7 separate regions of the Homo sapiens genome follow, and regions 2, 3, 4, 5, 6 and 7 are each linked to region 1. Evidence: promoter capture Hi-C in 16 types of primary human blood cells and fetal thymus (Javierre and others, 2016). All regions are on one chromosome and are shown on one strand. The core of a region is centred on a gene start or on the middle of the fragment in contact, and the rest is flanking DNA. Distances in the headings are between cores, read along the strand shown.

What was found. The method cuts DNA at HindIII sites, captures the fragments that hold promoters and counts their contacts. A CHiCAGO score of 5 or more calls a contact.
Region 2: the fragment with the promoter of PTBP2 here is called in contact with the fragment with the promoter of HS2ST1 in region 1 in 3 of 17 cell types (naive CD4 T cells, total CD4 T cells and fetal thymus); the score reaches 8.5 in naive CD4 T cells.
Region 3: a fragment that was not itself captured here is called in contact with the fragment with the promoter of HS2ST1 in region 1 in 2 of 17 cell types (non-activated CD4 T cells and total CD4 T cells); the score reaches 10.5 in non-activated CD4 T cells.
Region 4: a contact is called between a fragment that was not itself captured here and the fragment with the promoter of HS2ST1 in region 1, in 2 of 17 cell types (non-activated CD4 T cells and naive CD8 T cells). The highest score is 10.7, in non-activated CD4 T cells.
Region 5: a fragment that was not itself captured here is called in contact with the fragment with the promoter of HS2ST1 in region 1 in 3 of 17 cell types (total CD8 T cells, naive CD8 T cells and total CD4 T cells); the score reaches 7.0 in total CD8 T cells.
Region 6: a contact is called between a fragment that was not itself captured here and the fragment with the promoter of HS2ST1 in region 1, in 1 of 17 cell types (total CD4 T cells). The highest score is 6.3, in total CD4 T cells.
Region 7: a contact is called between the fragment with the promoter of MTF2 here and the fragment with the promoter of HS2ST1 in region 1, in 1 of 17 cell types (non-activated CD4 T cells). The highest score is 6.4, in non-activated CD4 T cells.

What each region holds. Positions count from the first base shown.
Region 1 is chr1:86,912,445-86,915,884 of GRCh38, forward strand. It overlaps HS2ST1 (heparan sulfate 2-O-sulfotransferase 1), which reads left to right and starts at 2,191. Exons shown (of 7, transcript NM_012262.4): 1 at 2,191-2,716. The coding sequence starts at 2,593. SELENOF (selenoprotein F) reads right to left here and starts at 1,682. Exons shown (of 5, transcript NM_004261.5): 1 at 1,584-1,682. The coding sequence starts at 1,667. RefSeq lists enhancers at 979-1,593, 1,442-1,491, 1,594-2,208, 1,602-1,761, 1,812-1,931. The HindIII fragment of the contact is 1,083 bases long and covers 1,810-2,892 here.
Region 2 is chr1:96,719,851-96,723,290 of GRCh38, forward strand. PTBP2 (polypyrimidine tract binding protein 2) reads left to right here and starts at 1,934. Exons shown (of 14, transcript NM_021190.4): 1 at 1,934-2,022. The coding sequence starts at 2,015. RefSeq lists silencers at 1,700-1,899, 2,130-2,409. The HindIII fragment of the contact is 2,234 bases long and covers 1-1,995 here.
Region 3 is chr1:77,760,182-77,763,621 of GRCh38, forward strand. No RefSeq gene overlaps it. Among named protein-coding and RNA genes, the nearest start is that of USP33, 2.0 kb to the left of the region's middle. The HindIII fragment of the contact is 2,006 bases long and covers 429-2,434 here.
Region 4 is chr1:95,236,845-95,240,284 of GRCh38, forward strand. The region is part of intron 7 of TLCD4-RWDD3 (TLCD4-RWDD3 readthrough); the gene reads left to right. All of the region lies in intron 1 of RWDD3 (RWD domain containing 3), which reads left to right. Among named protein-coding and RNA genes, the nearest start is that of RWDD3, 4.4 kb to the left of the region's middle. The HindIII fragment of the contact is 1,601 bases long and covers 727-2,327 here.
Region 5 is chr1:94,422,037-94,425,476 of GRCh38, forward strand. All of the region lies in intron 1 of ABCD3 (ATP binding cassette subfamily D member 3), which reads left to right. Among named protein-coding and RNA genes, the nearest start is that of ABCD3, 5.4 kb to the left of the region's middle. The HindIII fragment of the contact is 5,695 bases long and covers 1-3,440 here.
Region 6 is chr1:93,184,514-93,187,953 of GRCh38, forward strand. It overlaps CCDC18 (coiled-coil domain containing 18), which reads left to right. Exons shown (of 29, transcript NM_001378204.1): 4 at 1,832-1,990. Among named protein-coding and RNA genes, the nearest start is that of CCDC18, 5.5 kb to the left of the region's middle. The HindIII fragment of the contact is 7,524 bases long and covers 1-3,440 here.
Region 7 is chr1:93,077,335-93,080,774 of GRCh38, forward strand. MTF2 (metal response element binding transcription factor 2) reads left to right here and starts at 1,949. Exons shown (of 15, transcript NM_007358.4): 1 at 1,949-2,197. The coding sequence starts at 2,193. RefSeq lists enhancers at 1,512-1,761, 1,698-1,992. The HindIII fragment of the contact is 3,598 bases long and covers 1-2,766 here.

The DNA of each region.
Region 1 (3,440 bases), core at 941-3,440:
TGACTCTGTCATTCCTCCCATGTAGAGATGAAATCTATTTCTCCATCCCTGAATGTGAACTAGTCTTGTGACTTGCTTTGAGAAATATGTGATGGAAGTAATATATGTGATTTCCAAGGCAAGGCTTTAGAAGGCATTGTAGCTTTTGCTCTTTTGGAGTGCTGCCCTGAGAGTGCCATGAAAAGAAGTTGGTCTAGCCGACTGGAGGATGAGAGGTCACACGGAACAGAACCAAGTCCTCGAGCTGACAGCACCAACTATAAACAGTGGTAATCCTGGAACCTTTCGGTTTAGCTGACCTACTAGGTCAACAAAAAGCATAAATGAGGCCAGGGGAAAACCAACATAGGTGGAGTAGTTCTACTCCACTGACCCAGAATTATGAGAAATCATTGCTGTTTTAAGCTACTAGGTTTTAGGGCGGTTACACAGCTATAGACAACTGACAGTCAAAGACAGAGGGAGATCAAAAAAAGACAACCTGAAATGTTATCTCGAATGACCTAAAGATGTGCAAAAACCCTTAAACAGTAGAAAGTTTAGGGAGAGGTGATCCAGTAATTCCTAGCACCAAATGCCTGAATAACAAGATAATTGGAATGTTAATTACAGAAGTTAAGAATCTACCTTTTGGTTAAAGTAGCCAAAGCAAACAGCCAGGATGCTTTCAAGCTCTTTGAGAAAGGTAAGTACAGGTGTTCATAGAGGACTCCGGTGTAGTCCCTTAACACCCTCAACCTTGGATAAGTAAATTAAACCAGGTCTCCTTATTAGAGACTACCCGAAGAATTAAGCTAGGATAAAAAAACGTAAAAGCTTTCAGCACTGTGCCTAAAATTTTACTATTCACACAGCAGAACATGGATATGAGAAGAAATAAGTTAAAAGTACACTTTTCCCATTCAAAGGTCACCCATCTATTCTGCCAATAGAGAAAAATGAAATAAAAAACGCTGCCTTAAAGAAGACAACGAACATCATTTAAAAAACTAACTTCAAAAATGAATTATACTTTGGTATAGATAACTCCTTTTACTCCAACAACATTGTTTAAAAGCACAAATCGCACTCAAGCGCAGCCAGCCGTATATGAATAGCAGAGGAGAACGGAAGTTAAGAGACTAACAGAAGTAGTGAAAATGAGAGAGCACGCGCGCGAGAGAGGTAAACACAAACTGTTCGCCTGGACCAACGACTTGAAGACTTGCCTCTAAGAGTTGGAAGTCTCGTCATGAGTCTCTTGCATTTCTGTCCATTTAAAAACAACCTCCACTTCTTGCCAAGCTTTATTATTCCCCCCTCCCACCTGGTGTGGTTTACAGATTGTTTTTAGCAAGAGCCGTATAAGAGAAGCTACGTACCCAAGACAATCTGAAATCAAGAGAAAACTGCTGCTAGAAACCCAAGGCGGGGAAGGAGAAGGATCAACCGAGAAATTAAGCCACGTTGCATTCTGGCCGCAGCAGTCATTAAGGAAGCGCAGTCCTCCCCACCCTTTTCAACCAGGACCGAATGTTGCGTCTTTCTCAGCTGCAATCACTCCTACTCTCCCTGTGGCAGCTGCGAAGGTGATCTACACTCACCGCTTGAAGCACAGTCGCCAACAACAACCGTAGCCCAAACGCCGGCACCAGACACCCACTCGGCCCAGCCGCCATCGCTACCATTTTCCGCAGGTTTCTGGCTGCCTAGAAGGACCCCTAAGCTAGGGGCGTCCACTCCAGAGCCTGATCCAAAACAGAACGCTAACGGCCGTTGCCCTTACATCTCTCATTTGGAAGTGACAGGTATTAAATAACGGCATATGAAAGCTTAAAAGTCATCAAATACAATCACTGGGTGCTTTCGATTACCCAAATCAGGCACTTGCCTAAACTCCCCACTTCTTTACTTCTGCGGTCTCCTTTCTTTTATTCACGACACTTCGTCAAGCAGCCAAGAAGCCACGCCTTCGCCAGTTTTAGCCCCGCCTTCTTCTCCAAGTTTACCCAATTGAATGTCGTCTTGATTGAGCTCTGTGGCAGAGGAAACCAACCGTAAACCGAACCAAGAGCGAAGCGCAGGGGCTCTTCCGTCCAATAAGCGGACCCGAACGGGGGGAGGGGCGGGGCTTCTGGTTGCCGAGCAGCGTACGCGGATGCGTGCGCGTGGTGGCGGAGGGGGATGGGCGGGGGCGGGGATGAGGGCGGCGCAGCCGCAGCGCCGGTGGAGGGGCGCGCGGCCGCGAGCAAAGGAGGGAGGGAAGGAAGGAAGAGAGGGAGGCGGGCAAGCAGGCGGGCGCGGGGGTCGGGGACTGAGGCAGTAGAGGGAGGCGAGAGCCCGGCAGCCGCTTCGCGCTGTTTGCTGCGCGGGCTTTTGGAGGGGGCGGCCGTTTAGTCGGCTGAGGAGAAGCGGACACCAGCGGCGTTGGTGATAGCGCCTGGGGGAGGGGGACTGGAGAGGCGAGAAGGGGGGTCGCTGCGGTGGTTCTCTCGCTGTCGCTCTCTCTTTGCCTCGCTCCCGGCTCGGCGGGCTCCTCCCGGCGTCTCTCTCGCCTCCGGGGTCCCGCTCCCCGCCCCCCGCGGTATGTCTTGATCCCGAGCAGCGGGTTTCATGGGGCTCCTCAGGATTATGATGCCGCCCAAGTTGCAGCTGCTGGCGGTGGTGGCCTTCGCGGTGGCGATGCTCTTCTTGGAAAACCAGATCCAGAAACTGGAGGAGTCCCGCTCGAAGCTAGGTGAGGAACTGAACTGCCCCGGGCTGAGTGCTGTGGAAGGGGCCGAGGAGGCGCTGCCGCCGGAGCAAGTGGGCGTTCATCTAACCTGGGGTCTGGCTCGGGGGCTGAAAGCGGTTTCAAAGAGAACCGGGAACAAGGGGCAGCGAGAGCACGAGCTCCAAGAATGGGTTGAATTAAGCTTGAGCGGCGTGCTGGGCTCGCGAGGTCACGGGGCAGAGGTTGCAAGGTTGGGCTTCCCTAGCCAAAGGGTAGCCCCGAAGTAGGCATTCCGCGGAGAGAGAGCGAGAGAGAAGACCGAACTCAGTGGGGAGCGTGTGTTGCTGGTCTCCGGAGACAGAAGCGCTTAGCATCGCGTGTTCTCTTGGAAGTCGTACAGGAAGCCCTGGCAATGTCAGATGAGGGGTATTCTAATTTGAGCTATGGGCATCTGGATACGAATTCTTTTGGGGGCTCATGAAGGGATAGGTGCGCAGAAATGGGAGGAGATGCTGGGATGACGGAGAGCAACATGTGAACACTGTAGCGAGTTGCACTCTTGTGCTCCGGGCAGCAAAGGACCTTGTAATTGCCAGCTGAGGGAGGCTGGCCGGGTAGTGCGGGAACGCGAGTGCAAAGCTTCATCGGAGTACGGAAATGAGGGTCCGGAGATTTAAATTCTTCTTTAGTGGCGCTAAACTGATGAATTGGGGCTTGAGAATAGGGATGCCTATGTATGTTGCTTCAC
Region 2 (3,440 bases), core at 684-3,183, 9.8 Mb after region 1:
ATTGTAGGAAATTTGATATGTGGTTTTTTTTTTTTTTTTTTTTTTTGAGACAGAGTTTCGCTCTTGTTGCCCAGGCTGGAGTGCAATGGCGCGATCTTGACTCACCGCAACCTCGGCCTCCCAGGTTTAAGCGATTCTCCTGCCTCAGCCTCCCGAGTAGCTGGGATTACAGACATGCACCACCACCCCGGCTAATTTTGTATTTTTAGAAGAGACGGGGTTTCTCCATGTTGGTCAGGCTGGTCTTGAACTCCCGACCTCAGGTGATCTGCTTGCCTCGGCCTCCCAAAATGCTGGGATTACAGGCGTGAGCCACCGTGCCCGGCCTTTTTTTTTTTTTTTTTTAACGATTGACAATCCCATAGGCAAATCAAGAATTTGTAAAAATTTGGGTGCTTTGAAGAGTTCTATAGCAAAGTGTTTGGACAAGATGCTCTTTAAGGGTCTATCCAATTTAAAAGTAATATTATTTATGGCCGGGCACGGTGGCTCACGCCTGTAATCCCAACACTTTGGGAGGCTGAGGAGGGCAGATCACCTGAGGTCAGGAGTTCGAGACCAACCTGACCAACATGGAGAAACCCTGTCTCTACTAAAAATACAAAGTTAGCTGGGCGTGGTGGCGCGTGCCTGTAATCCCAGCTACTCGGGAGGCTGAGGCAGGAGAATCGCTTGAACCAGGGAGGCCGAGGTTGCAGTGAGCCGAGATTGCGCCATTGCACTTCAGCCTGGGCAACAAGAGCGAGACTGGGTCTCAAAAAAAAAAATTCTAAAAATTATACACAATATCATTTAGTATATGAAATTCCAATTAGCAAAGGATAAGAGCTTTGCCTGAAGGAGACACAGAAAAACCCAGAGTGAGTATTGAGAGTAACTGGAGGGACACAGGGAGTATTTGTCATTTTTCAGAATTAGAAGTGCATTTGTCCTTGTGTGTGTTGGGGGTGGAGGTGAAGGGTGCAGGAGAAGGATGGGTACTGGCAAAGTCGCTACTCACTGAGCAAATTTTCAAGCGGGTGCCTTTCCCAATTTTGTTGAGCCTCTGATAAAAACACGTTGAAGTAAAATGTCCACTATAGTATCAAGTAAAAATTGAGACCGTAAGATATAGCAAAGGGAGTCAATTTGCATAGCCCATTTTAATGCTTCTACTTTCTCTAACCAATCTGAAGACTCAGTTGTTCCCACTCCCATCTCCACTTTCCCTTTCATGCCTCCAAATGTTAAACTCCAACTATTGTAGCATTTTAACACATGGCTCCATTTGTGTCTATTTCCACCTAGCGTATTGTGAATATTTTCTACAGGCGCACACTAATCACCAACTGAAGTGAGAATCACATTTTCCTCCACTTGGCTTGGTACTACAGGTCTTGAAGCAAAAGCCTGTATTTCAGTCTGAGGAGTTCTACTTGCTTGAGAAAGTACTGTTGTTACCAAGTGGTCTCGTTCAGTGGGGTAAAGATTTTTGTTTTAGAGGCTGGAGCCGGTCTGCAAATAAAAGATGGCTTAGGAGAAAAGCTATCCAATGTTTTTTCCTTGGCCCGCATAGGTTGACGGTAGCCAAGCTGGTACTTGGCTTGGAGTGAAAAGTGGAGGCTGCCTGGGGGCGTCCTGCAGTCAGGGCAGAGAGAGTGTGGAGAGCTGTTGGGAGGTGTCCCACCCACGCCCCCACAAGGAGGGGAAACCAGGTCGCCGCGGTCTGCAGCAGAACGCCAGGTTCCAGAGGACGGCAGGCGGAGGGCGGAGGGAGAAAGGCGCGCGAAGGCGCGGAGGAGGCGTCGGCTGCGGCGCCCACTCCCCCTAGTCCCAGCGCCCTGCCGCTCGCCTCCCGCTGCCGGGCGCCGGCGCGCTCGGCTCTTTCCGCCGCCGCCGCTGCCGCGCGGTGGCCCGTGCGCCTCGGCACCTTCGGCAATTTCCGTCGGGCCCCAGCCGCCATTTTCTCGCCGCTTGTGTGGCTCGCTGGCTGCGTGGCTCGGTTCTTGTGAGCGAAGCTTTGTCCGGTTCGGCAATGGACGGGTATGTAATCGGGCCGGCGAGAAGGTGTGTGTGAGAGAGGAGTTGGACCGTCCTTCGGCCCGGTCCCGGGCCGGGGAGAAACCCTCCCGCGGCCCCTCCCAGGGCTGGGCTGCCGTTACCCAACCCCCGCCCCATCGCACACACCCCTCCCTTTGCTTCCCCCGGCGGGCTTTGGTCGAGAAAATGAGAAGAAAGCGGGCTTGGAGGCTGGGGAGGCATAGGGGCGATGGCGGGGGTGAGGATCCCGGAGTGGGAGCGGGCACCGGCTTGGCGGCGGGGGATGGGGTGGGAACCCCATAACGTCTCCCCGGTCTGTCCCTGCCCCCTCTAGGAGCCATTTCGATCCGTACCTTGGGACCCGACCCTTGGGTTAGCGGTGCCTGTGAGAGCGAGTGGGATGGGCAGAGACAGGCCTTTGGATTGGGGGAGCCTCTAGGGGAAGAGGAGAGAGGCACCCCATGTGGACCCCAGCCATGAGCAACCTCTCCGGCCTCGCCCGGCCCTCCGTGGTCGGGAGAGATGCCGGTGGCGGGAGCTCCGGGGAAAGCCTAGTGGGAGCCGCTGGGGAAGGGGGGAGGGCGTGCGGCGGCGGGAGGAAGGGGGAGGGCAGATGTCATACTCCTTTGTTTTCATTTGAGTCTGGTAGTGGGGGCGGGAGGGAGGAAAAAATGCCTTTTTGTGGGGACTGAAAACATTCAAGGCTTGGCAAAAGGGCCCAGAAATTAAATCATCTAAAAAACGAAGTGTTTGAAGCCGACATCAGTCACATGGGCAAAGGCCAACAGCAATGGCAGAAACAAGAGCAGATAGTCAACAAAGGGCTATCTCTTTAGCTACTTTGGTCAGTTTCTGGAAAAACGACTATAAAAACCCAGAACCATGCTGCATCTTTGCGAACCTGAGTCAAGACGGAATGCTGAGTGAGGTGAGAGGCAAGACTGTGAAATGGTAGGGACCGATGTCTCGCTCATATGCTTCACACCTGAAAAGACTCAGTAATTTAACTCAATGTTAGAAAGGGGGCACGCTTAAGGTCAAAAATACAGCAGTATGCAGCTCTTTTGGGAGTGTAAACATAGTATCATTTAACAAGTACATTTATTAAAATCAGTGAGTATTTGAAGAATCAACAATTTGGTTAAGCGCCTAGAGTTTGGTGTGTTTTAAAAGGTACTAAAAACAAGATTTTATAAAAGTTAACACAGTCTCACAGAATTCAAATCATCCTAGATGTTACCTAAAGATTATTTTCCAGATGAAACAAATCCAGAGAAGTTCAGTATTCCCCCCAGATCAACACGGAAATTGATGTCAAAACTTGCACTAGAATTCATGTTTCCTGATTCCTGGTTCCTGTGGAGACTACTAAAGAGTTTAAGCGTTAAATTATTAATCTCAGTATACTGGCATTGTAGAAA
Region 3 (3,440 bases), core at 182-2,681, 9.2 Mb before region 1:
ACTTAACTTATCCCAATTCAACATTGTATTTCCTCCTTTCATCTTTCTTCCCCCAACTTCTTAGGACCTAGATTCTCTGAAAGCAATTATGTTTCCCTTTTCCACCTATGCAAAGAAGAAATTTATCTCACCATTTTCTCCTTAGGCTAAAATCAAGAGGATCAAATCAAATATTTATTGAAACCTTAGTATCTGCTTAATGCCTGGAGCATGGAAGGAGTCCTGCCTTCTAATTATGTAACTGTTAAAATGCACTCGATTGAGGTTCAAATCTATGAATAAAAAAGGTTATATTAATAAAAAATTGTTAAAATTGCCAGTTTCAATCTGTCTCATGACATCTGACTTTTTGGTCTCCAAAATGGGAGCATGTACCAAAGTATCATGCAAGATGCTCAGTCTCCATTGGAATAGGTAGAAAATATAAAAGCTTCTACTTATTTTTATGGTAAAAATGAAATAAATTAACCATGATACAAAATTCTAGGTAGGGATTGACACTCAGGCCTCAATTTGCACCACAAATGATTGCCTATCCTCGGTTCACTGAGGAGAATAGAAATTTCACAGAATAGAAGTTTCACAGGCAGGCGCCATGGTTCATGCCTGTAATCCCAGCACTTTGGGAGGCCGAGGCGGGTGAATCACTTGAGTTCGAGACTAGCCTGGGCAACATGGCGAAACCCCATTTCTACTAAAAATACAAAAATTCGCCAGGCATGGTGACAGGCACCTGTAGTCCCAGCTACTCAAGAGGCTAAGAGTGGAGGATCACTTGAGACCAGGAGTTTGAGGTTGCAGTGAGCCATGATTGTGCCACTGCACTTCAGCCTGGGTGACAAAGTGAGATATTCTCTGGGAAAAAAAAAAAAAGATGCCGTTAGGAGATGAAAAGTTGTCTCCAGCCGGGCACAGAGCCTCACACCTGTAATCCCAGCATTTTGGGAGGCCAAGGCGGGTGGATTACCTGAGGTCAGGAGTTCAAGACCAGCCTGACCAACATGGTGAAACCCCCATCTCTACGAAAAATACAAAAATTAGCCAGGTGTGGTGGCGCGTGCCTGTAATCCCAGCCACTCAGGAGGCTGAGGCAGGAGAATTACTTGAACCCAGGAGGCAGAGGTTGCAGTGAGCCAAGATAGAGCCACTGAACTCCAGCCTGGGCAACAGAGGAGGACCCTGTCTCAAAAAAAAAAAAAAAAAAAAAAAAAGCTGTCCACAGAGGAGATCTACAGAAGAAAAAAAAAGAAGAGAGACAGAGAGAGAAGAAAAGTTAGGCCAGCAAATAGAATTTATTTGAAATACATATAATTGAAAAGGGGCTCAACTCCATATGTATTTCCAGAAATCAATTTTTAAAAAAACAGGCGACCAAATAGAAAAATAGACAAAAGTCACTTCCCCAGAAATTCTTCTATTGAAAATGTATCAGGGGTATTCTGTTCTTACAGTGTCCTAGCAAATTCAATTCAGCCTCCAAGTCCCACCACCATCCTGCTTAGTAACCAAGGTTCTCTCTGGGCTTACCTGTCCTGGAGGAGTTCTAGGGCAGTGTCAATGCAAGGAAGACAACTGACAAGGCTGTTCAAGATCACCAGGTGCGGTGGCTCATGCCTGTAATCCCAGCACTTTGGGAGGCCCAGCAGGGCAGATCACCTGAGATCGGGAGTTTGAGACTAGTGCGTAGATAATAGTAGGCAAGTACTTCTCAGGTGGACACCAAGTGAAGTCCTTGCAGTGGACAAGTTCTCACAAAACAAACTCACTCTGATAGAATATAATGTAATACCTCTCCCACTTTTAACTTCCGTGAATTCCTGCCTCCCACCCTTGGGTGTTTATCCTTTCATCCCACAGTCCAGATTGCTTATCTTTTACTTTTCTTCAAACAATATCTCCTGATGGCTTATAATGGCTTATAAGGAAGAACACTATCATTAGGAAATAAATCAATCAACTTCCCCTTGAGAGAATAGATTATACATTCCAAAGTGTGGACACCCAGCTGAGTCACTGATTCTGGAGTAGAATTCTAGAGGGTGTGTGGACACCCAGCTGAGTCATACTGATTCTGGAACAGAATTCTAGAGGTGCCGTTCATGGAGAATATAATGTAAATAGTATGACTTAGAGTTGTGCATCAGGCCAGGTACTGAAGTCTCTTCTAATGAAAGGGAGAAAAAAGAAGAAATGAAGAGTAGGAAGAAAAAGAAGAAAAGAAGTCTCTTCTAATGAAAGGGAGAAAAAAGAAGAAATGAAGAGTAGGAAGAAAAAGAAGAAAAGAAGGAGAGATACAAACAGGGAGGGAGGAAGACAATTGAATGGTCCTATCAAAAACAAATACCTTCTCATTTTTGTAACTGAGTAATGGCAAGTAAAAAATAGCAACGTAGAAAATATACATTTTGGTGCTTATGTACCTGAGACTAAATAAAGCTTTGTAAATGCTGTTTCCTTAGAGACAATTTTACAGATACTCCCAACCTCTATCCTTCCTTCACCTGGCTAACTCCTACCTAGATATTCTCTGTTTAATACAGAACTCTTTACCCCATTATTTCCGGTTTCAGCATCCTGCTTGCTTCCTTTAGAGAATGTATTATAATTTGTAATTATCTTAAATTTTTTGGTATACTTAATTTTTTGCCTGTCTCTCCTGAACTCCTCAATGGGAGCAGTGAGTATTTATCTTATTCACAATATTCCCAGAGCCTAGCATTGAAGGACTCAAAAACTTGTTGGCACTCAACTGGGGGTGGTTTTGTCCCCTGAGTGGATAGTTGGCAATATTTCTGAAGAGGATTGGTGGGAGAAAGAATTAGTAACATTCCTTTGCATTGATATTACAAGAGAGTCCCAGACATCATTAATGCCACTATTGAGAAACTCTGATTTAAGCTGGGGCTTTAAAATATGTCTTTGGGCCGGGCCCAGTGGCTCACGTCTGTAATCCCAGCACTTTGGAAGGCCGAGTTGGGCGGATCACCTGAGATCAGGAGTTCGAGACCAGCCTGGCCAACATGATGAAACTCCATCTCTATCAAAAATACAAAAATTAGCTGGGTGTGGTGCAGGTACCTATAATCCCAGCTACTCGGGAGGCTGAGGCAGGAGAATCGCTTGAACCCGGGCGGCGGAGGTTGCAGTGAGCTGAGATGGCACCACTGCATTCCAGCCTGGGCAACAAGAGCAAAACTCTGTCTCAAAGTAAAATAAAATATGTTTCTGGGCAGGGCGCAGTAGCTCATGCCTGTAATCCCAACACTTTGGAAAGCTGCGGCTGCTTGAGACCAGAGTTCAAGACCAGCCTGGGCAACATGGCGAAACCCTGTCTCTACAAAAAATTGCAACAATTAGCCGGGCATGGTGGATCATGCCTGTAGTCCCAGCTACTATGGAGGGTGAGGTGAGAGAATCACTTGAGCCCAGGAAATTAAGAC
Region 4 (3,440 bases), core at 277-2,776, 8.3 Mb after region 1:
CATTAGTACACAGCTGAGCATAAAACACTGCTGAAGGGTCAGAGAAAACCCAAAAATGTAAGCATAGAAAGAAAACAGTTTCTTAATCTTGAGAACACTGTGAACCCTTTATCTGCTGTTAAATTGAGCATGACTTTCAAGCCATGCCTCCTAATTAGTTTAATTCCATGTTCTGGCATCAATAAGTAATTGAATTATAAAAGAATTCAGTGTAACAACTTAGGACATTTTGTTGCTGAGAGGTAGAATAATTCAGTGATTGAAATGGGGATGTTTGATGTTCACAAGTGGGAATTAAGGGGGTAAGGTAAAGGCCTTTTTTTTTTTTCCCATGATTTTCGTAACATCTTTTTACAAAGTAAGGACTTCTTTAACAGACCACAGTAAACATGCAGCAGACTGCTGGCTACCACTCACCATCACTGTCAGTTTGGGTTGGAGGATACACACTTGATACCAGAACACTCTAAACACTAGTTCTTTTCTGGCCTCCCCCAAATAAGGTTCTCCCTTTTGCCACTGGAATCAGGAGAATGTTGCAGAGGAATTGCATTCCTGGTAACAAGATAACCCAGCAAGACTCAGACTGCTAACCCAAGGATCAACTATTAAGGCCGTAAGATTGAAGAAGCTAAATAATTGGATTCCATTTAGCTGGACTAATTTTATGCTGAGAATTTCAGGGGATTTTATCTGCCTTTTGATCTCTTTACAATGGTTATAGTAAGCTTCTAGTAAGAGGCATAACCATCTCTTAGGGGTGCAAATTAAGTAAGTCCCTACACTCCCATCTACAAGGGAGGGCTGTGGATAGACCACATTAGGGATATTCTGTTTTTCTGTATGCATTGTAGTCAGTCCAGGTGCCAGATTTGATGGGGTGACCTGCCATGTACGTGATACTTGAAATGCATCTTACTTGATGAGGGGTACTATTGGTCTTACTTCACAGAGAAGATAACTGATACTCAGACTGGTTAAATAACCACCAGGCTCCAGGTGTATGGGCCTTTGCACTGCATCATGCTCCTTAATAGAGAGATGGGGCTGTTGCATCAGGAAAATAGTTCTTGGAAAGCAAGGAAATACTTGTGCAGAAAGAGCGATAATGAGCACCCAGAGAAAAGATATGAGTGTGAGCCAACTTATGTTCAGAACAATCCCAAAGGGGAGTGTTTGTGCATGTATGTGTGGATCTATGAGAGGCGTGAGATTGGTATTGTATCACCATTTTCCTGATGAGGAAATTGAGTGACACAGATTATGTGGCCATAGTCAATGTTCGTTATATGTGGGAGTTGTGCTTCTGGAAAGAATCTTACAGATAAAAAAGTTGTAAGATGGGAGAACCCAATATCATGTAATAGGTTTTCACAGAAGCTGCAGAGTGAATTTTTGTATTTTAGCAACACTAATGTTCAAATTAGTTTGGGCCTTCTTATAAAATGAATCATGACTGTCACACATTGACCCCTCTAAATCTGCTCAGCTCGGTTTTATGCTGATTGTCAGTATTGAGCTGACTTCTATAAAACCGATGAGATTGCTACTTTTAGCTTCATTTATTTTTAGTTTTTTTTTTTTTCTTCTGAAGCTACATTGAAACTTATGTAAAAATCCAACTGAAGCATAAAACAAGCACTGGTGTATGCTTGCCTGGGAGCTGCCTGGGAGCAAGAGGAGACAGTCTTGTCTTACCAAGTATGAGAGGGTGCTGAAGGTTTCTTGGTGGTTTTCTTCAAAGTTGTATCTTGAGGATATATAACAATTGCAAAGAAAAAAAACACAAGTGTAGGGAAGGTCAGATGTATATGGTATGTAAACAATTTCTTAATGGGCTCTTAGTGAATCCTGAAAAACCCATTCTCTTAAATTTTACCTTTTTTTAAAAATGTCTTCTGTTATTTGACTGCATTTATAGAGTTTCTGTTGTGTGTTGTATTTTATTAAGTAGAATGAAACCTTAAAAATAGCATTAGTGTGAATTTGGAGTTCTAAAAGTTTAAGTTTCTCTAGTTTGAATTTCTGTTTGGAATGTGTTTAGGAGCTTACTTTCTGATGTTTGTAAGGAAGCATAAGGTTTGAAACCTGTTTCAGTTTGTGTTTTAGGTATGAAAATGATACACTTACTATAAGACAGAATGATTTGGTTAGAAACAACAAGTAGTCAATTTGTATCAACTTGAACAAGAGGGCAAGACCCTTTTGGTAGGGTCTTTAGAATACATGAAAACACCCTTGGACTTATGGAGATTTTAGTTTTCTGGGGCAAGCCTTAAGTTTTCTAGGGCATAGATGTTTGTTGAGAATGATCAGTTTGTGAATTAAGCTTATTAACTAAGGTTCTGGGGGGCTAAGGAGGGGCAGAGATTAGTATTAGATTTAGAGCATAATTATTTTTCTGCTAATCACTGTTTCTAAGCTGTTAATAACCTTAAAGCAGATAGGGGCAACTTTGTTTTCTTTTTTATTATGGCAAAAAAAGAAAACAAAAAATCAGACTTACAGTGCATGTGTCATATGAAAAATTCTGAGGCAGAAAGGAGCCAGTTTAATTGCTTGTACAATGTCAAGCAGATGAGATATGGAAGAGTACAATACATACTTCTAGAGTTTTTGGGAGAAAATGAGTTTTTAAAAGTATGTAATTTTATTGCCACATTAAATACCAGAAGAATGGAGTATGTTATTGGGCTTTTCAGTTTCTTGTAGAGATGACAGTATCATTTTGTATAATCTTATTTTGCAGCTACAGTGTATGTGTGGGTGGGCAGGGGGATTTACCAAGACCAATTAGGAAGAATGCTAATCCTTTCCAATTCTTAAAAGAACTAAGGCAGTTTTCTTCCGAACATATAACTAGTATGACGGTCACAGTTTTCTAAGGTGAAAGTCAGGAGTTTCACCCATTGCTATTCTGTTTGCTGACTAGGACCAGAAAATAACACAGAGAAAAATGAAAATTGGTAAGGACTGACATGGCTGGCTCAGTAGCTTTTCAAGACTTTCCCCCTGGACTACCAACATGTTTCTTTCCTGTGGTTCCCTGCACCAGAGAGGACCCGGTAGGTGTTTATATGGCACAGGTTGGAGAACACTGTGGGTCTCAGGGTTTTGATCAGAAAAGGATTCTTCAAAGTTTGCAGCATAGCATCTTGCTTCAGTGCGGATACATTGCCTTCTTTTGTAGTAAAATCTCTGTCTCCTCCTTATAGGGACCCTTGTGATTACATTCAGGGCTCACCTGGGTAATCCAGGATAATACTCCCCTCTCGAAATCGTTAACTTAATCATGTCTGCAGAGGCTCTCTTGCCATGTGAGGGAGCGTATTCACAGCTTCTGGGAAACAGAATGTACACATCTTTGGGCCCATTATTTACCACAGGTACCAGGGATTTCTGCACCTGTGAGATCCGTGATTACAAGCTACTAGCACAAT
Region 5 (3,440 bases), core at 265-2,764, 7.5 Mb after region 1:
GGATTACAGGCATGAGCCAACTTGCCCAGCTGATACTTCTTTTTCTTCAAGACTCAGTCAACACTTTGTCTTAGGTGTTTTCTGTCTTTTTCTGATTTCCAAACTGATGTAAGTGTCCTCTGCTTTTATGATACTGTAGGCCAGGGGTCCCCAACCCCCGGGCTGTGGACTGGTACAGGTTGGTGGCCTGTTAGGACCCAGCTGCACAGCCTGTGCAAGCGAGCATTACCACTTGAGCTCCGCCTCCTGTCAGATCAGCAGGGGCATTAGATTCTCATAGGAGCGTGAACCTGTTGTAAACTGCACATGTGAGGGATCTAGGTTGCACACTTCTTATGAGAATCTAATGCCTGATGATGTGAGGCAAAACAGTTTCATCCTGAAACCATCCCCCAACTCAACCCCAATTTGTGGAAAAATCGTGTTCCGCAAAACTGGTCCCTGGTGCCAAAAAGGTTGGAGACTACTGCTCTAGGTATCCCCTACTCTAGCACTTACCATTCTGTATTGTACTAGTTTGTTTTCTTGGCTTTTGCCTACATCAGATCCTGAGTTTCTTGAGGGCATGAACTGAGTCATCTTTAATTCCCTAGTTCGGCTCTGTCATGGGTTAGACAGTGTTTATAGAGAGGATAAATGACATAGGATAGTTGAAGAACTTTTAAGCGTAATTGACAGGCATTTGGAGATGCCTAGTACAAACATGAATAGAAACATTCTTTTTGCAGAAGTAATAGTTGTGTACCTGAGCATATATAACCTGACCTGGGTAGTGGGAAATCAGTGGGCCAATTTTAGAAGGCAGGGAATGGTACCAGTCTGTATAGCCATAGTATTTTATTATCTTTAAAAAACAGAACAGAACAAAGCAGTTTCTTTCGCTTCTTATCAATGCTTGTCAAATAGAGTTCGGATTTCTCATCTTGGATTTCAGAGCCTCCCTCAATCTGGTCTTACTTTACCTGGCTAATCTTATATGCCATTGCCTGCCAATGGGTACTCTCTGTTCCAAATAGGACAGTTTCTACACTGTTCTTTGAACAGGCCACACTCATTTTTGGCTTTGGAGCTTTATTCATGCTGTTACTCATACCTAGAATATCTTTCTATGATATCCCTGTTCTCCAACTCTTGTCATCCTTGAAGGGTTAGGTCAGGGTCACCCTATCCATGAAGTGTTATTTAACTACTCCAGATGATCTAAATGATGATCACCTCTTTTAAAATTTCTGAAGCATGCATTTAAATACCTTTATTGTTTTATCTATTCATTGCTTGACTGGTTATAATCTAGCTAGGTCTACCAAAGTCCACCTGCTTATGGGGTGAGTTTCCTGCTTTTAAAAGCCCCCCTCTGTAAATGGTGGGAACACAGTTTCCTCTCCTAAATATTTCTCAGGAATTTCAGGGAGCTTGTGTTTCTTTTAGTGACATCTTACTTCGCTTCCTTTGGAGCACTTTCTGCTCTATTTTAGAAGGTACTTACATCTTGTCTCTTGAGCCTGTCTCTTTGGCGTCTGCCTTGATTTCTCTAAAGAATCAATCACAAAGCAGATATTTATAGTAGGGCTTTATTGAAAATTTGGGAGGAGTGGTAGGGATTATATCCCAGCATAGTGAACAGCTTAAAATGCTTTTATTTAGAAGTTTTTTGGACATTCCCACTGCTGGAAATTTCTTGACTTTTTTTTTTGTCCTGAGTCTCAGCCCTGTTGCCTGCTGCTGGGCCTTTCTTTACCCATTGGGTGTCCTTATATCTCCAGCTTCTTACTCCCTGCACTACGTTACTGCTAACCCCTCTACAACTTTCCTGCAAACTTCAAAATTCAGCTTTCCTTCCTTAAATCTGCCCCATTCAAATCAAGCTCTAGAAGGGGCTGGCTTCACTTTTCTCAGTTTCACAGGCGCACTGGGTGTTTTGCAAAGTGCAAGCATGAATCATGTGAGGGGCTAGAGCGGCTTGAGACCCTTACAGTTACCCATGAGTAGATGTTATATGGCCCCGTTTGGATCCTCAAAATAAAAAAGAGATGCTTAAGCAACCTTGGATGGAAAAAAAAGCATTGAAGAATTTGCCAGCCAAAGTAGCTGTGTACTGAACCCAACTGAGGCAGATCAGGCCCAGAGCAGTGTTCTGAGAACTGTGTAGCTGTCTGTGGTCTGCTAGGGGGAACTGAGTACAGGTTGTTTAATTAATTATATGTCCCAGTTACTGGCACATTCACATCCTTGGGTAGGCATTCTATTTCAAGGCTTTTGCTCTTGCTGTTTCCCCTGCCTGAAGTGCTCTTTCCTCAGATACTCACATTGCTTACTCTCCCCACTCTTTCAGTCTTTTTTCAGACATCCTTTTAGTGAGACCTTCTATTGCCATTCGATTTATTTTTATTTATTTATTTATTTTGAGACGGGGTCTCACTCTCTCACCCATGCTGGAGTGTAATGGCACCATCTTGGATCATTGCAACCTTTGCCACCCAGGCTCAAACAGTCCTCCTACCTCAGCCTCCCAAGTAGCTAGGACTACAGCCACACGTCACCACACCTGGCTAATATTTTTTGTAGAGACAAGGTCACGTTATGTTGCCCAGGCTGGTCTCGAACTCCTAGGCTCAAGCGATTCTCCCACCTCAGACTCCCAAAGTGCTGGGATTACAGGCAAGAGCCACTGTGCCTGGCCCCTGCCACTCAAAATAGCATCCTGTCTACCTTCCAGACTTTACTTTTCTCCTTAGCACTTATCACTATAAAATATGCTATATATTTTACATATTTATCTTGTCTGTTGTATATGTTTGCAGTATATACATACTGCTAGCATTTAAGTTCCACAAAGGCAAGAATTTTTGTCTATTTTATTCACAGTTATAGCCCCAGTGGCTAGAACTGTGGCTGGAATATATAGTAGACACTCATATTTGTTTGACTCTACAACAACAAATGAGATTCTCATTTTTTGGGGGCTGTGGTTACTATTGTTTTAAATAACACATTCTTTTTGCTACAAATGTAAATGTTGTCTTTAGTATATTTATGAGCTCTTTAGGAGCTGGACCACTTATACCCCCTATATGTACAGGTAAAGCAAGTCTCAGAAACTTAAAAAAATGCTATCATCACCTGCTTTTGACAGTTTAATAGAGTGTAAACATTAAAGACAATTTAAGAAAATTAAAAATCATCCATAATGTTATAACCATAATACAAATATTGTTTTATTTTTGTTTCCTTTTATTCTGTATTTATGTGCATTTTTACAGTTATAACGTACATGTTTTGTTATTTTCATTTAAAGCATACCTCTTTCCTATATTTCCCTGTACATGACCTTCATAACTATACTTTTAAAGAAATACGTAAATATTCCTCTGTGTGACAATATCTTAGTTTATTTTCCTGTTAGCTATTGAGGATCTAGACTGTCTCTGGAATTTTTATGG
Region 6 (3,440 bases), core at 675-3,174, 6.3 Mb after region 1:
AGCCTGGATCAAGTACTTTGGATAGTATGGCACTGTTCTCTTTTCATTATCTATTTTGTCAATGATGTTAGAGATCTTTGCTTGGTCTGAAACTCTCTTCCTTTTTCTTATTCTATCACATATTTATCTCCCTGCATTTATCCCTCTTCCTCACTCAACTCTTTTATCTCCTTTTACACTCTCTTCCTATTCTTTGTTCCCCCGACTCCCTACATGTATATACACAGATATGGTTGCACATAATCTTTTTGGATATGTATTTGCTCTTTCCACTTCGGAAAGCCAACCATTAAGAGCTTTCCTTTTTGTAACGAATCTGCTTAATGAAGCTGTCTGAATCTACTTTTTAGAAACAAATTCAAATTCCATGTTTACATGGTATGTAATTCTAAGAAATTTGATCTCTATCCTCATTCAAATTGCTGATCATTCTTATTGTATATGTGCCTTAATTGGGAAAACAATAATGATAATGCCGATCAAAGACAAAAGGCTAATCTAGTGTGTAAAGATCTCCTAGAAATTGAGAACAAAAATATCAGTAACCCAATGGGCAAAAGACATGAACGGAAAAAGAAATAAAAGTGATATCCAAACTAATGAAAAGGTGTCCAATTTCACTCATAATAAGATAAATTCAAAGTGAAACTATACCTAAGTACCTTACCTAGTTCTTACCTATAGAATTATTAAACATTCAAATGTTTGAGGTGTTATTTTATTGGTGATATTGGGTACGGGTACATTGCCTAGTGGGAATGCACAGTGATATAACCCCAACTGAGATGCATTTGGCAATATTTACCAAAATTACAAATACATTTACCTTGACTTGGAACTCCCACTTCTGGAAAAACGATACTGTAGACACCCTGCAGGATATGAAATTAGGCATTGTTTATCATATCAAAAGATTAGAAATAGTTCAAGTATCCAGTAATAGGGGGTTAGTTGAATAAACTAATGGTTTATTCATACAATGGAAACTATGCAGTTGAGAAGAAAAAAGGAGTTTGTCAATGTATTTATTATGGAGAGATTGCCAGTGTATATTGTTCAAGTAAAAAAAAAATGCAAGGTGCAGAATGTTATATTTAATGTGCTAGTTTTTGCATAAGGAGAGGAGGGAAGTGGGTAATTTATATTGCTTATGTATGCATGTGGAATTACCAGAAGACTAAACAAGAAACTTATAAAAGTGGTTACCCACCTATTAAAGATGGGAAGAGACTTCTGTGTATACTTTTTCTTTTATATAGTTTCAAGTTTTGAATTGCATAAATAAATCACTCAAAATAAAGTTAATTAAAAGAAATGTTTTGAAAATCACAATCCTCATGAAAATTAAATGTATTGTAAAATATATATAAAAAGAATATAATAAAAATATTTATACAGATGAAATAATATTTTACCTATTATCCATTTTGTTGGTGGTGGACATTTGGGTTCTTCCTATTTACTATCTCTGGACAATGTAGCTATGAATAGTTTTATATCTGCACGTGAAAAAGTACAAAAGTTTTTATCAGGTTTATGTCTAGGGATGATATTATTGGTTCTTAGCATATTCAACTTTGCTGGATAATACCAGCCAGTTTCCCAAAGTGCACCACTGTTTTCCAGGTTATACTTGTATGTACTTCCACCAGCAGTGGAAGAGAGAGTATTGATTGTTCCACATATCCTTGTCAATACTCACTAAGTATTTTAACTCATTTTCTGAGCTGCTTCGTCATTTTGTTAATAATTGCTCATAATTTTCCATTAATTACATGTAACCCTTAATTGAAATAATTGAAAATATATTTGTTCTTTTTCATTCTTTCAGATGTTTTCATCTTCTGCCCCTGTGGATCAGGAGATTAAAAGCCTTCGAGAGAAACTAAATAAACTTAGGCAACAGAATGCTTGTTTGGTCACACAGAATCATTCCTTAATGACTAAATTTGAATCTATTCACTTTGAATTAACACAGTCAAGAGCAAAAGTATGTATCTTGAAATAAGTTTGCCAACAGAAAATAGTTGTTATTTTAAGATTTATAATTGGAAAAATATTCCTTGTATTGCCACATTGCCTTAATGTGTTATGGGAAGTAATTTTCATTATAATACTATAGTATCAACATGTTGTAAAATCAATATTGTATGAATTATATCTGAAAATGATTGAAGGGAACTTTACAGTTTTTGCATTTAGATAAGTCAGCTTCTTAAGGTGTTAAGATTACCAATTTGTGTGGTTTTATTTTTTATACAAAGGAAGTATAACTTACTTATCTTCCCTTTTAAAATAACACATTGTCATTGTTGAAAATTTTAAAAGTAGCAAAAAGAGGAAGAAAGATCACCCAGAGTTTCCACCTAGAAACCACTTTACCAGTTTAATACGTAGTTGAATCCAGACTGTTTTAAATAGTTTTGGTGTTTTCTGTTTTTTACTTTATATATAGTCTGTGCATTTTCTGATGCATTTACATAGCTTTTCCATTGAACATTTTTTATGGTAGCATTATATTTCATGTGATTATATCATAATTTAGTTAATAATTCCTGTATTTCAGTGGTTTCCTATTTTTTTACTAAATGATTGGTATTACACAAAAAATTAGAAGAAACCAAAATGTCCAGTAATGGAGACATAGTAAATTATGGTATACCCATAAGATAGATTGCAACAAAACCTTTTTTTAAAAAAATGAGGCAAATATACTAGTACTAAGATGCAAAGTTGTTTGACTTGTATGGAGCATTATAAGGTTTAAATGATATAATATATGTAGTCACTTAAAACAGTGTCTATGTGTAGTCAGCACTCAAAAACAATTACCTAATATATTTAGTGGCAGAAAAACATTACAGAGCAGTACACACATGTATAATACTCTTAGTTTTCCTCTTTATAAGAAGTGTGCATGTGTCTGTGTGTGTGTGTTTGTATGTAAATATATATACATGTGATATATTAAGGTTAGAAACTATGCTTCACACTGTTGATAATTTCGAGAGAGACTGGAAGGTTGGAGTGAGGCTTTCACTATTTACTTTTATAAACATTGTATACATACATTATATGTAGTTTTAAATAGAGGAGTTATGGGAAGACTTTATTTTTCTTTTCTGTTTTTTCAAACAAAACAAAATGCTATTAGGGATTATTTCAGCACAGGAAAAACAAAATGCAGCAATGAACATAAAACTTCTTTGGTGTTTGAGATTATTTCTAGGGTAGACTTACAGAGGCAGAATGACCAAATTTTAGGGAAATAATGTTTTTCAAGCATTTACATTTGGTTCCTCATCTTTTCTTGGTCACTTTGAGGGAAAAATGCTGTTTTTCTTGATTTCTTACAAAATGTACCTTTTCAGTATTTCTTTGCCATTTAGATTTCTTTGTGATTTGTCTGTTCATTTTTTCTGCTTATTTTTAAAATTTTT
Region 7 (3,440 bases), core at 699-3,198, 6.2 Mb after region 1:
GGCTGACAGGTATTCTTTATACTTGACTGTGACTCCCTGAGTGTCCTTAAATCTCTGAACACTTGGTTTGCTTACACCTTTGTACTCACACGTTTGCACAGAAAAATAACACTTTTTTTTGATAGAGGCATAATTTACTTCTCTAATGTATAAGGGATTAGAATACTTTTGTGTAGCCAAAGAGCCTAAATTATTAGAGTTTCTGAGGTGGAAATGAATGCGTCTGAAGTATTGAATCACTGAAGATTTTGAAGTTGAGGCTTGGTGACCACTTTACAGAAATGTTGAGGAAAACTTAGACCAAACGTTCTCCAAAACAGATGTTCTCTGATTAGGCTTAGCTGCACAGCAAATATATCTGTTTGTGCAATATCTTTATTAATTTTTGTACTGCATCTACTTTTTAATATTTTATTTATTTATTTACCTTAATGCCACGTTCCTGAATGGGAATGCATCTACTTTTTTTTTTTTTTTTTTGAGATGGAGTTTTTGCTCTTGTTGCCTAGGCTGGAGTGCAATGGCACGATCTTGGCTCACCACAACCTCTGCCTCCTGGGTTCAAGCGATTCTCCTGTCTCAGCCTCCCGAGTAGCTGGGATTACAGGCATGTGCCACCACACCTGGCTAATTTTTGTATTTTTAGTAGAGACGGGGTTTCTCCAAGTTGATCAGGTTGGTCTCGAATTCCCGACCTCAGGTGATCTGCCTGTCTCGGCCTCCCAAAGTGCTGGAATTACAGGTGTGAGCCACCGCGCCCGGCTGCATCTGCTTTTTTTAAGTCAAAATTTTCCTCAGCCAACGTATGAAGGTCACTTAAGACGAATTTATGAGAGACGATGATGAGAATTGAAATAAAGTGAAACCTGAAAGGTAGTAGGTAAGTAGATACAGTGAGGGTACAGTAAGAAGACAGACTTAAAAGATTAGGACTATTATTCAGGAGAAGCAGAGGAGTGGAAGGGTATGACCACAATATTTAAAGTATTGAATGGTATTGGATAAAACGAATATGCTTATTTGCCAAATTCTGAGATCACAGGCTGAGGGAACCCCTTTTGAAGTATGAGCCAAATGAGCTTAGACCACAAAAGGTACTTTTTCAGAGACAGAAAAAATATGGTGTTCACTATCCCTGTGGCATAATATGGGACAAAAATATAAAATGGCTTTAAAAATATTTTGACGAAATTATAAATAAAGATTCCACACGTGGCTACTAAGAGGAGCTGGGTTGTATCTAGGTGTAAGTTAAAGAGACAAGCATACAATCTCACAGCTTGTCAGTTGGGACCCCTGTAGGCAGCAGAATCTGGGCAGGCTAAGGGTCTGCACTAATAAACAATTCTGTTTTCTTAAACCATTTTGCAGGGGACTATTCTCAGATTTCATTACAACTAGGAAGGACTGCAAAGCGGGTAAACAGAAAACAACCTTTCATCGTTAGGAAAAAAATCGTCTGAAAGTCTTTCATAAAAGCAGCTCCTGATAAGGAGTTTGGGACTGGACAGTGAATCGCTGAATAAAATTTAATCTCGACATCCTGGGTCTTCTCCCCTCTGAAGGAAATTCTAACAGCAGGCCTTAGGATGAAAGTAGAGGAAACGTGCTTCAGTTAAGGTTTTCTCCAGGGAAAAGAAATCGGCCCAGCAAGATGCACAGAGCACCGTTACGACCACGCACACCGAAGGTCGCACACGACCCTTTTCCTGTATAACAGTGCCAGCCTGCCGACGATCAGGAGCGCAGCTTTCACTATTGTGTTAGCCCCGGCGGCGGAAGGACTGAGCCTCACTGCAACGTTAAAGAGTCCTTCTTTGTTCAGCCCCAGTCGGGGACGCAGGGCGCGGTGTTCCTCCGCGCTCGCCGCGCAGTCCCTGCCCCCCCGCGGCTTTGGAGAGCTGCCATTCGGCACCGGAGTCGCTCCGCGCTCCCAGAATGCACCGGCAGTCCGCGGGAAACCAAAATGGCGAGGGGCTGTATTGAAGTGGGCTGTGTTTGAGGCCGGTGTAAGAACGCTCATTCTACCCCCAACCCTTGTCTCCAAGGACCTCGGTTTGTGCGTGCATATGTGCCGGGTACCCGGTGGGGCGGGTGCCCAGTAAGTGCTCGGACTCGCAGGGGAAGCGCCCACGGGGACGGATTGGTTGTTTTTTCCTGTATGAAGCGGTTGGCACCACTGAAGTGACCGAATGAGGTGAGAGACCTTGGCCTGGGAACCGACTCTTCCGGAGGAGATGGGGGTTGGGGGAAGGAGGAAGAAAGGAAGCAAGTATAAAAGGGAAAGATGGAGGACCAAGGTGGGGGTGGGGGCTCCTGTATGTGGGTGCCTTTGCATTTATGTGTATATTGAAAAGAATGGATGAAGAGGAGTAGTCAGTTGAGTGTTGGGAGAAAATAGGGACTAAAGGAGCGAGGAGGTCGTTGGGGGAGTCTGTTGGAGGAACAAGATGAAACGTTGAGACGGGGAAGCTGTGTTTGGAGGGCAGGAAGGAACCTGGGGGCGGGAGACGGTTGGAGGGGCAGGATGAACCTGGTGACGAGGGGGTGGGGAGCCGAGAGGAGGAGCCGTTGGGAAATGGGGGCTGAGGGAAATGTGGGGAGCAGAGTGGAGGGCTGCCTGGGACCTTAGCAGTGCGCAAAGGGAAGTAGCAGCTTGGAATCGGAGGGTGGAATTGTATGGAATTGGAGTAAAGGGGGTCGAGTGTAAGTGCTGGTAAGGATAAGGGGAACACACTGAAGTGGAGGTTGGAAGCACAACCTGAAAGCTTAAAGGGAAGCGGTGGGAGGGAAAGTGAGATGGGGGAAAGCTAGGTAGCTTATATTTGGAGCTCACCAAAAATATGAGGCTTTTCTTGTGTTTAATTAAACCTAACTCATATAATCTACGTCTAGGATGTAGATTTGTATTGTATTCATTTTTACAACTGAGGTAATTACGGCTCAAGGAATTTTAACCAATTTGCCAAGATTTCTTAACATATTTCGGTAGTGCCAGAACTCTAACTCTGTGTTTTACAATCTGGTGTCCTTGGTTGCTAGAATTTTTCTTTGGAAGCAATTAGAGGGAACAGATGGATTTATCGGGGTAATCTGACTAACAGCAAGGGTTTGTGAACAATGGGAAAAGGCTTATGGAATGTTACTCTATTCTTTAAAACATTTAACTTTGGTTAAAGATAGAAACCATGTAACACTAACTTAAATGTGAAAACCTAGCTAGGCCTGTGTGTAATACATAGGAAGGCACCATGTGAGGTCAGTACAGAGCTAGAAATATGTAAATAGTACCTGATTTAATTTGACTTCAGAACCTCCGGTAGTAATAGTAGTTACTTTCTCCTTCAGATGGATTCCATGTGACCCTCCTGTATACCTAGCCTACAAGCTGGTTTCAATTTCCATGGTTTCATTCTCTCTTGGGAATTCCTTTTTTTTTT